Regions from separate parts of the Homo sapiens genome. Here regions 2 and 3 are each linked to region 1. Evidence: promoter capture Hi-C in 16 types of primary human blood cells and fetal thymus (Javierre and others, 2016). All regions are on one chromosome and are shown on one strand. Each heading gives the region's core, a stretch centred on a gene start or on the middle of the fragment in contact. The rest is flanking DNA. Distances are from core to core; before and after follow the strand shown.

Region 1 (3,829 bases), core at 563-3,062:
CCATTCCCTACACCTGGGAGACCCCCATATCTCTGTAGTTAGGAATTTTCCTGAAATAGCTATGCCTACATACACATGTATACACACTCAAAGACACAAAATTATGTATACACACTCAAAGACACAAAATGTATACACACTCAAAGGCACAAAATTTTCCTTCCATTATGGAAGCTTACCTCCTTGGTTGACTGGGTAATCCCGGGCCGAACACTGAGCTGATGTGTGACTAGCTTTCCACACTGGGTTTATCTGATGTGCCTCCTAAGGCTGCTCCCTTTTATAGGGGCTGGGATCAGTGATTGATTTAAAGACGTGATTGGATAACACTTGTCTGTTGATTGAATTACTGATGGAATCTTCATCCAGCCCCAGCTCCATGTCAGTGATTGATTTAAAGACGTGATTGGATAACACTTGTCTGTTGATTGAATTACTGATGGAATCTTCATCCAGCCCCAGCTCCATGTCTCTAATACAGTGTTCTATACCATCACTGGTCCTGGGTCAACAGGTCATAAACAAACACATTAATATTTCTGCAGGCTAGGTGCAGTGGCTCACACCTGTAATCTCAGCACTTTGGGAGGCTGAGGCAGGCAGATCACCTGAGATCAGGAGTTCAAGACCAGCCTGGCCAACATGGTGAAACCCTTTCTCTACTAAAAATACAAAAATTAGCCGGGCATGGTGGTGGGCACCTGTAATCCCAGCTACTTGGGAGGCTGAGGCAGGAGAATTACTTGAACCTGGGAGGCAGAGGCTAGAGTGAGCCAAGATTGCGCCACTGCATTCCAGCCTGGGAGACAGAGCAAGACTCTGTGAATCCCTAGCCTGAGCAACAAAGCAAGACCCTGTCTCTACCAAAAATAATGTTAAAAATGTTAGCCAGGCATGGTGGCATGTCTGTGTAGCTTGTTTGAGCCAGGGAGTTCATGGCTACAGTGGATTATGACCGCCCTACTGAACTCTGGCCTGGGAAATGGAAGGAGACCAAGTCTCTAAAAAAAAAACAAAACAAAACGAACAAAAAAAAAACCATGCCTGTAATCCCAGCACTTTTGGAGGCCGAGGTGGGCGGATCACGAGGTCAAGAGTTCGAGACCAGCCTGGCCAATATGGTGAAACCCCATCTCTACTAAAAATGCAAAAATTAGCCAGGCGTAGTGGCGCGTGCCTGTAGTCCCAGCTATTCAGGAGGCTGAGCAGAAGAATTGTTTGAACCACAGAGGCGGAGGTTGCAGTGAGCTGAAATTGTGCCACTGCACTGCAGCCTGGGCGACAGAGGTAGACTGTCTCAAAAACCAACAAACAAACAAACACACACAAAAATACAAAATCTGCGGTAAAATGTAACAAGGTCCACATTAAATGAAAATATAAAGACAGGCTGGGTGTGGTGGCTCGCGCCTGTAATCCCAGCACTTTGGGAGGCCGAGGCAGGTGGATCATGAGGTCAGGAGTTTGAGACCAGCCTGACCAACATGGTTAAACCCGGTTTCTATTAAAAATACAAAAATTATCTGGGCGTGGTAGCATGCACCTGTAATCCCAGCTACTCAGGAGGCTGAGGCAGAAGAATTGTTTGAATCCAGGAGGCAGAGGTTGCAGTGAGCCGAGATTACGCCACGGCACTCCAGCCTGGACGACAGAGCGAGACTGTGTCTCAAAAAAAAAAAAAAAAAAAAGGAAAATATAAAGACAAACGTTAGTCTCACAAATTCTGATCAAGTTTTATTATAAATTACTCATAGAAACATGACAAACTTTTGCTCAAACTTTTAAGTTTTCAGAGATTTATGAATTACAAGGGTGGCAGAGGGCAAGGCTAATGCTGTGACTCCTGTGCCAATTCCAGGCTGGTGAAACAGAGGGGGCCCGGGACCCAGAGAAGGCATTCCTAATCCATCAAAAAGATGACAGGGGTTGAGACTAGGATTATATCAGTGGAAAGGGAGAAATTGGTGCATATTTTATATTGAGAAAGCATATGATGTTTGATAGACTTAACATGAGGCTTGAGAGAGATGGAGGAGTTAAAATGGTGAGAAGCGCCTGGTCACCTAGTGTGGTGGAAGCTGTGCCTTCTTCCCTGCACTCTCCCTCCCCACTTTCCACCCTCATACAGGCTGAGGCTTTGGTGGAGTTGAGAACGTATCGAAGGGGTGGGAGCTAATTACAGCCATGTGTTTCATCTGCTCCATCAGGCATGCAGCCTCTTGGGGCTTAGATTGTCCCCCTATCACTGTTGGGTACAGAGTTTGAATCTCCTGGTACTCCACTGATGAAATGTCTGCTTGACTTCCCCACATTAGGAATTATGTTCTGAATCCTCACATTATAAGACTGTGTACTAGTCCATTTCTCCAAGGAGTTTCATCCACATATACTCCATACAGAGAAGTATCCCTGCTCCCATCAAGAGCCAATTTTCCACTGGTGGTTTAGGTCCTGTCACCAACTATGTCATTAAACCAACTGTGACAGGAAAATTGGCTCTTGATGGAAGCAGGGATACTTCTCTGCTACAACAATGAAAAATGGGCTGGGCGCAGTGGCTCATGCCTGTAATCCCAGCACTTTGGGAGGCCGAGGCGGGTGGATCACCTGAGGTCAGGAGTTTGAGACCAGCCTGGCCAACATGATGAAACCTCGTCTCTACTAAAAAAATACAAAAATTAGCCAGGCATGGTGGCAGGCACCTGTAATCCCAAGTACTCGGGAGCCTGAGGCAGGAGAATCACTTGAACCTGGGAGGCCGAGGTTGCAGTGAGCCAAGATCGCACCACTGCTCTCCAGCCTGGGCGACAGAGTGAGACTCTGTCTCAAAAACAAACAAACAAACAAACAAAAAACAAACAAAAAAAAAACAATGAAAAATGTAGACAATGTGAGTACCACTGGAGGCCAGTTGTTAATTTGTGGTGGGTTGAAAGCATTTCCTGTCTGCTTCTGCAGTCTCAAGGAGTTCCTTGAGCTCTGTAAGGAGCTGTAAGGAAAAGGTTTGGGGAAAAGCTGGCAATTTCTGTTTGGAGGAGGTTATTGGATTTTTGAGTTCAGATATACAGCCAGCTGTTGGACATGCTGGTGTGTAACTCTGGGAGCAGTTAGACCTGAGGCACGATGATATCAGTAAGAGTAGTAATAGCATCAGGGATCATAATAACTAACCTTTAAGCAGTCAGGGCATATTTGACTCTGTTCTCAGTGCTTTCTGTATGTTAACCCATTTCCATCACAACAGTCCTGTAAAGTAGATCCTAAATAACTCCATTTTAACATCAAAATAACAGAGGCACAGAGAAGTTCAGTACCTTGGCCAGTGCTACATAGCCTGTAAGTGGCTGGGCTAGGATTTGATACCTGGCTCCAGAGTGGGACTCTGAATGCTACATTAAGAAGGCAAAGACACACAGCCACTGTGTAAAACCAGCAGCTTTCTAGGGAATGGGCTAATGGAGGAGTGAAGGGCATGAGCAGGAGGATTTATCCTTGGGGAAACACAGATGGTGGAGGAAATGACCTGGTGATACCCCAACTTAGGCATAGAATAAACAGGCACAAAACAATAAAAATAAATGTGAAATCCACATAGTAATTTAATCAAATAAGGATATTACAAAGACAACTATCAAATGCTTTTCTGATCAATTGGGAAGGCAGGTAGTGCTGCCTTTGGTAAAAATAGATGACCCGTTTACATCCAGCATCATCTCAACTTGTGTCTGGTGAGTATCCCCGCTCCAGTGTGAGTGAGGAAAATAACCTTTGTTTCCAAGAAGACAAAGCCAATCCGCCTCAGTATGTAGGAAACAGTGATTTCAATTAG
Region 2 (4,023 bases), core at 850-3,349, 460 kb before region 1:
ATCAGGGCAACAGGGAAGCTGTAAGTGTGGATGGAGGGGCATTGGGCAGTAGCGTCTCTGGAATCAGCATCCCAAAGCCCAGGGCATGAGAATAACTTCCTTCTTTGGGACTTGGGTTATAAGGGGTTGTCAGTGTAGAAGAGAGAGTGAGTCCCAGAGAATGGAGAACAGGAAGCCTGTAGAAAATTTGGGATGACTTTGGAGTGGCCCTTCCGAGGCAGTGCAGTACTGGCCGAGTGAAAGCCAGTCAAGGTGGATGACACAGCCTTGAAGCCCCATGAGTGGATCCCCTTGGGATTTTGCCTCTAGACAATTTCCTCTCCTGGGAGAAGGGACAGGTGTGACGATAGTGAAGATTAGTGATGAGTCAGTCCAGGACTGGGGTCAGCCAGGCCCATTGTATTAGCTGGATCAAGGTTCATGTGTGTGTGACCTGGTGTCTCCATGGTGCTGGTATTCTGAGGTCCGGACCCTCAGGCCAGCTCGTGGGGAGCTTCAAGCAGCCATGCCTCCTTCTCTGTGTGTGTTCTCTTTTGTCTGGCATCAGCTGTGGCCTCCATGGCACTTGCTGTCTCCCATGAGGCAGCCAACCTTGGTATGCCTCTGATAGCTGTGTCATGGGAAGGGTGGGCAGCCAGTCCTGAGAGAGGAATGAGTAGATAGGTAATGGAGGCACGGAGTGAAGAAGGGAAGAGTGGCCCTGAAAGAGCATTTAGAGAAGTAAAGCTCCCCCACACACATTGGGATATGGTGATCTCATGGTGAGAGGTGCAGGGGCATGGAGGACTAGCGGGGACCCTTGTTGAACCCTCTGGAGTCAGGATGGGATGGTGCTGTGTCCCAGGGTGTGGTGATGGATGAAAGGGGACCAGGCTGACTTGTCTTCTCCAGAGAGTTGCGTTTGAGTATAGCTCACATACAGAAAAGTGCACTGCAGACTCTCCTTGACCCAACTTAAATCAGGATCCCCTGAGCCCTCTGACCTTGGGCTTCTCCCTTTCCCTATAGGATCCAGTTTGAGCAAGATGTTTGGATGTGCATAGTAGCTCACACCTGTAATTTCACCACTTCAGGAGGCTGAGGCAGGAGGATTGCTTGAGCCTAGGCATTTAAGACCAGCCTGGGCAACATAGCAAGACCCCCATCTCTGCAAATAGTAATGTAAAAATTAGCCAGGTGTGATGGCATGTGCCTTTAGTTCCAGCTTATCAGGAGGGAGAGTCAGGAAGAAGGCAGAAGAATCTCTTAAGCCTGGGAGTTTGAGGCTACAGTGAGCCGTGATCACACCACTGCACTGTGGGCTGGATAATGGGGCAAGACCCTGTCTCAAAACAGAATCTGATATGGTTTGGCTCTGTGTCCCCACCCAAGTCTCATGTCAAATTGTAATTCTCTTGTTAGGGGAGGGACCTGGTGGGAGATGAATGGATCATGGGGGCAGATTTCCTCCTTGCTGTTCTCATGATAGTTCACATGAGACCTGCTTGTTTAAAAGTGTGTAGCACTTCCTTCTTCATTCACCCTCTTTCCTGCTCTGCCATGGTAAGACATGCTTACTTCTTCACCTTCTGCCATGACTGTAAGTTTCCTGAGGCCTCCCAGCCATGCTTCATGTACAGCCTGTGGAATCGTAAGTCAATTAAACCTCTTTTCTTCATAAATTACCGAATCTTAGGTAGTTCCTCACAGCAGTGTGAGAATGGACTAGTATAGAAAGTTGGTAACAGGAGTGGGGCACTGCTATAAAGATTCCTGAAGCTACTTTGGAACTGGGTAATGTGCAGATGTTGGAACAGTTTGAAGGGATCCGAAGAAGACAGGAAGTTGAGGGAAAGTGTGGAACTTCCTAGAGACTTAAATGGTTGTGACCAAAATGCTAATAATATGGACAGTGAAGTCTGGGCTGTGGTGGTCTCAGATAGAGATGAGGAACTTACTGGTAACTGGAATAAAGGTCACTCTCGCTGTGCTTTAGCAAAAAGACTGGCAGCATTGTGCTCCTGCTCTAGAGATCTGTGACAGACACAACTTGAGCTTGAGAAAGATTATTTAGAGTATCTGGCAGAATAAATTTCTAAGCAGCAGTGTTGGAGAGGTCGCCTGGCTGCTTCTTAAAGTCTGCACTCAATTGCATAATCAAAGAAATGACCTAAAACTATAACTTACATTTAAACTGGAAGCAAAGCATGAAAGTTTTGAAAATTTGCTGCCCATTTTCTGGCAGGAATCAAAGGCTGCAGAAATGTACATAAGTAAAGAAGAGCTGAAAGTTAATAGGCAAGATAATGAGCAAAATGCCTGCAGGGCATTTCAGAGACCTTCTCAGCCGCCCCTCCCATCACAAGCCTGGAGGCCTAGGAGAGAAAAATGGTTTTGTGGGCCAGGGTCCAGGGCCCCAGTGCTCTGTGCATCCTCAAGACTTGGCATCCTGCATCCCAGCTGCGTCAGTTCTAACTGTGGCTAAAGGAGGCCAATGTACAGCTTGGTCTATTGCTTCAGAGGGTGCAAGTCCCAAGCCTTGGCAGCTTACATGTGGTATTGGACCTGTGGGTGCACAGAAGGCGAGAGTTGAAGTTTGGGAGCCTCTGCCTAGATTTCAGAGGATGTATGGGAACACCTGGACGTCCAGGCAGAAGTCTGCTGCATGGGTGGAGCCCTCGTGGAGAACCTCTGCTAAGGCAGGGGGATGGGGGAAATGTGGGGTTGGAACCCCCACACAGAGTCCCCACTCAGGCACTGCCTAGTGGAGCTGTGAGAAGAGGGTCATCATCCTCCAGAGTCCAGAATGGTAGGTCCACCGTTAGCTTGCACCGTGTGCCTGGAAAAGCCACAAGCACTCAATACCAGCCTGTGAAAGCAGCCACAGGGGCTGTACCCTGCATTGCCACAGGAGTGGAGTGCCCAAGGCCTTGGGAGCCCAGCCCTTGCATCAGTGTGACCTGGATGTGAGAAATGGAGTCAAAGAAGATTATTTTGGAGCTTAAACATTTAATGACTGCCCTGCTGGTATTCAGACTTGCATGGGACCTGTAGCCCCTTTGTTTTGACCAAGTTCTCCCTTTTGGAATAGGGGAATTTACCCAATGCCTGTACCCTCCATTGTACCTTGGAAGTAACTCACTTGCTTTTGATTTTATGGGCTCATAGGTGAAAGGGACTTGCCTTGTCTCAGATGAGTCTTTGGACTTGCACTTTTGAGTTAATGCTGGAATGAGTTAAGACTTTGGGGGACTGTTGGGAAGGCATGATTGCATTTTGCAGTATGAGAAGAATATGAGATTTAGGGGTGGGACAGGGATAGAATGATATGGGTTAGCTCTGTGTTTCTGCCAAAATCTCATGTCAAATTGTAATTCCCAGTGTTGGGGGACAGACCTGGTGGGAGGTGATTGTATCATGGGGGTGGATTTCCCCTTTTGCTGTTTTCATGATAGTGAGTGAGTTTTCATGAGACCTGGTTGTTTAAAAGTGTGTAGCACTCCCCACTCCACTTTGATATCTGATCAAATTCCTTGTCCCCCACCTTCAATGTCTTCTTCCCTGGGCCTGCCTTTAGGAAAACTTCTCTTGAGTTGGTCTGGCAAGAATTCACCCCTTATCTCTGAGGTTTGCACTTAGTAATTTTTCATCCTCCAGACACCCTGCTGCTTCTCGGCTTTAAGCCCTCACTTGTTCTTGTCCAAGCTGGAGTTGAGTCTGGCCTCCCAAGCCCCTCTGTAGTAGCTTCTGGAATAAAGCCTGCCTCACCATGTGTTTGTATGAATGGAATTAGATGTCTGCCTGTTGCACAACATTGTGTAGGTTAGACTCATCCATGTTGCTGCAGGCAGCTGTGGTTTCTCCTCAGTGCTGTGTAATATTCCATGGTGTGGGCGCACTTGAACATGTGGATCTATTCACTGTGAGCAGTGGTTCTCATCCAGGGGCAATTTTGCCCCCAGGGGACATATGGAGACATCTGGGTGGTCATGATGAAGGGTGGCATCTGGCAGGTGGAGGCTGGGGCTGCTGCTAAACATCCTT
Region 3 (3,684 bases), core at 1-2,500, 500 kb before region 1:
TGGTCTTGATCTCCTGACTTCGTGATCCGCCCACCTCGGCCTCCCAAAGTGCTGAGATTACAAGCACGAGTCACCACGCCCGGCCGTTTTAAAACTTTTAAAATTAAAGTTTAGTCCAGTCACGGTGGCTCACACCTGTAATCCCAGTACTTTGGGAGGTCAAGGCATTAGGATCACTTGAGATCAGGAGTTCAAGACTAGCCTGGCCAACATGGTGAAACTCTGTCTCTACTAAAAATACAAAAACTAGCCAGGTGTGGTGGTGCTTGCTTGTAATCCCAGCTCCTCAGGTGGTTGAGGCAGGAGAATCACTTAAACCCAGGAGGCAGAGGCTGGAGTGAGCAGAGATCACACAACTGCACTCCAGCCTGGGCAACAGAGTGAGACTGTTGTCTCAAAAAATTAATTAATTAAATTAAAGTTTATATGTAACCTTTATATACATAAACTATATAAGCTTTAAACATATATATACACATAAACATATATATAGGCATAAAGTCCTCAACTTCACAACTTGATGAGTTTTTTTATATATGTCTAAATATATAAATATATAATGTCCATATATAAAAATCCATCACACAGGTCAACAGAAAATATATTTCCAAAACCCTGTACCACTTCCTGGTTAATATCTCCCAGAGTTAACCACTATCCTGATTATCATCATAAGTTTTTTTTCTGTCCTCAAACTTCATATAAATGGAATCATATAGTCTATGGTTTTCTGTGTCAACATAATGTGTTAGAGATTCATCCAAGTTGCTGCATGTATCAGTAGTTAATGTTTGGTAAATTGCTGAGTAGTATTCCACTATGGATGTACCACATTTTGTTTATACATTTTATTATTGATGGACTGCTGGGCTGTATCCAGTTTTGGCCCCTTATGACTAATGCTTCTATGAGTGTCCTTTTAGATGTCTTTTGGGGACATGGCTCATACTTCCATTGTAAGAAATTACTATTATGTTCTCTTGGGCAGTTTTTCCAGAAAGAATACAAATTTTGAATGCTAACAGGTCTGAAAATGCTTACTCTCTCCTCATATGTGTGAATGATATATTTGCTGAGCATCAAATCCTGAAATCAGAGTCTTTGTGTTTCTGGAATCTTCACTTATCTTCTAGTGTCCAGGGTTTCAGAAGAGAAACCAATGCTGCTTATACATACCCTGTGCTCTTTGTAAGGGATTTGCAATGAAACTTGTGAAGTTTGCACTAGTTTTGGAGTATGGGTACTTCACCAGACTATGATGTCTTTTTAACCCTGCCAAGACATTGGACATGCCCTTAGAAATGTGAAGATACGTACAACTCATTTTTTTTATTTTTTTGAGATGGAGTTTTGCTCTTGTCACCCAGGCTGGAGTGCAATGGCACAACCTTGGCTCACTGCAACCTCTACCTCCCGGGATCAACTGATTCTCCTGCCTTAGCCTCCCAAGTAGCTGGGATTACAGGCATGTGCCACCACACTCAGCTAATTTTTCTATTTTTACTAGAGACAGGGTTTCACCATGTTGGCCAGGCTTGTCTCAAACTCCTGACCTCAGGTGATCCTCCTGCCTCGGCCTCCCAAAATGCTGGGATTACAGGTGTGAGTCACCGTGCCTGGCCAACATACAACTCTTTATGATGCTTCTATTCAAGTAGATAGAAGAATGCTATTGGCAAAGTATTAGCAAGTTAGTATAAAGCTCTCTGATTTGTTTGGAGTGATAATATTTGGATTATGCAGAAAAAAATTGATAGCATATCCTTCAGCCCTCATCTAGGACTATCATAAAATTATACACATAAGGATCCCCATGATGCTAAAAGGTGTATGATTCCTGCACCATTCTTCAAGGTTGACGGTTCTTTTATTCATACGTGATGTAGAAAAATAGATACGCTGTTGCCATATGATTCCTGCACCATTCTTCAAGGTTGACGGTTCTTTTATTCATACGTGATGTAGAAAAACAGATACGCTGTTGCCACTGATAACATTTATGGGCAACCCGCTTGGGTCCCCTTCCACACTGTGGAAGCTTTGTTCTTTCGCTCTTTGCAATAAATCTTACTGTTGCTCACTCTTTAAAAAAAAAAAAATTTACATGTGATTACCTATGACAACCATTTCTCTTCTTTTCTTTTCTTTTAGACAGGGTCTCGTTTAGTCACCCAGGCTGGAGTGCAGTGGTACCATCTCAGCTCACTGTAGCCTTGACCCCCTCAAGCAGTCCTCACTTCCCAAGTAGCTGGGACTACAGGAATGCACCACCACGCACAGCTAATTTTTGTATTTTTATTAGAGACGGGGTTTCTCCATGTTGCACAGGCTGGTCTTGGACTCCTGAGCTCAAGTGATCCACCTGCCTTGCCCTCCAAAAGTGCTGGGATTACAGGTGTGAGCCTCTGTGCCCAGCCATGATTATCTATGGCAACCATTTTTTTTTTTTTTTTTGAGATGGAGTTTTGCTCTGTTGCCCGGGCTGGAGGGCAGTGGTGTGATCTTGGTTCACTGCAACCTCCACCTCCTGGGTTCAGCTATTCTCCTGCCTCAGCCTCCTGTGTAGCTGGGATTACAGGCATATGGGAGACATTTCTTTTTCTTTTTCTTTTTTTCTTGTTTTTTTTGAGACGGAGTCTTGCTCTGTCACCCAGGCTGGAGTGCAGTGGCACGATCTCGGCTTACAGCAAGCTCTGCCTCCTGGGTTCACACCATTCTCCTGCCTCAGCCTCCTGAGTAGCTGGGACTCCAGGCGCCCACCACCACACCCAGCTAATTTTTTTTTTTTGTATTTTTAGTAGAGACGGGGTTTCACGGTGCTAGCCAGGATGGTCTTGATCTCCTGACCTCGTGATCCACCCGCCTCGGACTCCCAAAGTGCTGGGATTACAGGCGTGAGCCACTGTGCCCAGCCGCATATGGCCAGACATTTCTATGAGACATTGTTCATCAGGCCTAGACCCTGAGTCCCCATTAAATGGTGTTTCTATGGCAAATTAGGGACATATGTAGAATAGAACTGCTTATCCCTGCTGATCTGTGGCTGCAGGGAGTCACAAGTTTGCAGTCTTGTTACATTCAGATACTTAAGAGTTAAAAAATAACTGGTGGCTTTTGCCTCCTTTATCCCTGATGTCAAATAAAATGGAATTCCAACCAATAGCTTTTCCACATTGATCTTTTTTCAATGAGTTTTTCTAATTTGTTTGAATTTCCTGGTGTCAAATAAGGTAAAAGCCATGGTTGAAAGCTTGCCAATACTGACTGCATTCATAGTGTTCTCCAGTATGAGTCCTCTTACGTTCAATAATATGAGAACAACTCCTGAATGCTCTTCCACGCAAATTACATGTATGGGGTTTTCCTCAGTATGAGTCCTCTGATGTCACATCATAAGGGCTAGGCTACGTCTGAAGCCTTTCCCACGATGACTGTATCCATCACTTTGCTCTCCAGTGTGTCTTCTGTGATTTTTGAGTAGTGGAGGAGCAAAGTGTAAAACCTTTCCCTGAATGATTCCCTTCATAAGGTGTCTCTATAGATTCTTAGCTATAGGGTAAAAGTGTTCACTTCTTTAGAAGAATTTCCTAAATTCACTGCAAATATATAATTTCCCACAAGTATAAATTGTCTCATATTGAATAAGGTATAATTTGTGTCTACAGCCTTTGCTACAGCGATTAC

The links. Contacts are between HindIII fragments. The CHiCAGO score rates a contact against its expected background, and 5 or more counts as called.
Region 2: a fragment that was not itself captured here is called in contact with the fragment with the promoter of ZSCAN4 in region 1 in 1 of 17 cell types (activated CD4 T cells); the score reaches 5.1 in activated CD4 T cells.
Region 3: a fragment that was not itself captured here is called in contact with the fragment with the promoter of ZSCAN4 in region 1 in 2 of 17 cell types (total CD4 T cells and total CD8 T cells); the score reaches 6.2 in total CD4 T cells.

The regions. Positions count from the first base shown.
Region 1 is chr19:57,666,918-57,670,746 of GRCh38, reverse strand. ZSCAN4 (zinc finger and SCAN domain containing 4) reads right to left here and starts at 1,812. Exons shown (of 5, transcript NM_152677.4): 1 at 1,544-1,812; 2 at 180-502. The HindIII fragment of the contact is 4,258 bases long and covers 177-3,829 here.
Region 2 is chr19:58,122,179-58,126,201 of GRCh38, reverse strand. No RefSeq gene overlaps it. Among named protein-coding and RNA genes, the nearest start is that of ZSCAN18, 26 kb to the right of the region's middle. The HindIII fragment of the contact is 5,091 bases long and covers 1-4,023 here.
Region 3 is chr19:58,166,596-58,170,279 of GRCh38, reverse strand. The region is part of intron 1 of LOC124904784 (a long non-coding RNA gene); the gene reads right to left. Among named protein-coding and RNA genes, the nearest start is that of ZNF274, 15 kb to the left of the region's middle. The HindIII fragment of the contact is 1,581 bases long and covers 460-2,040 here.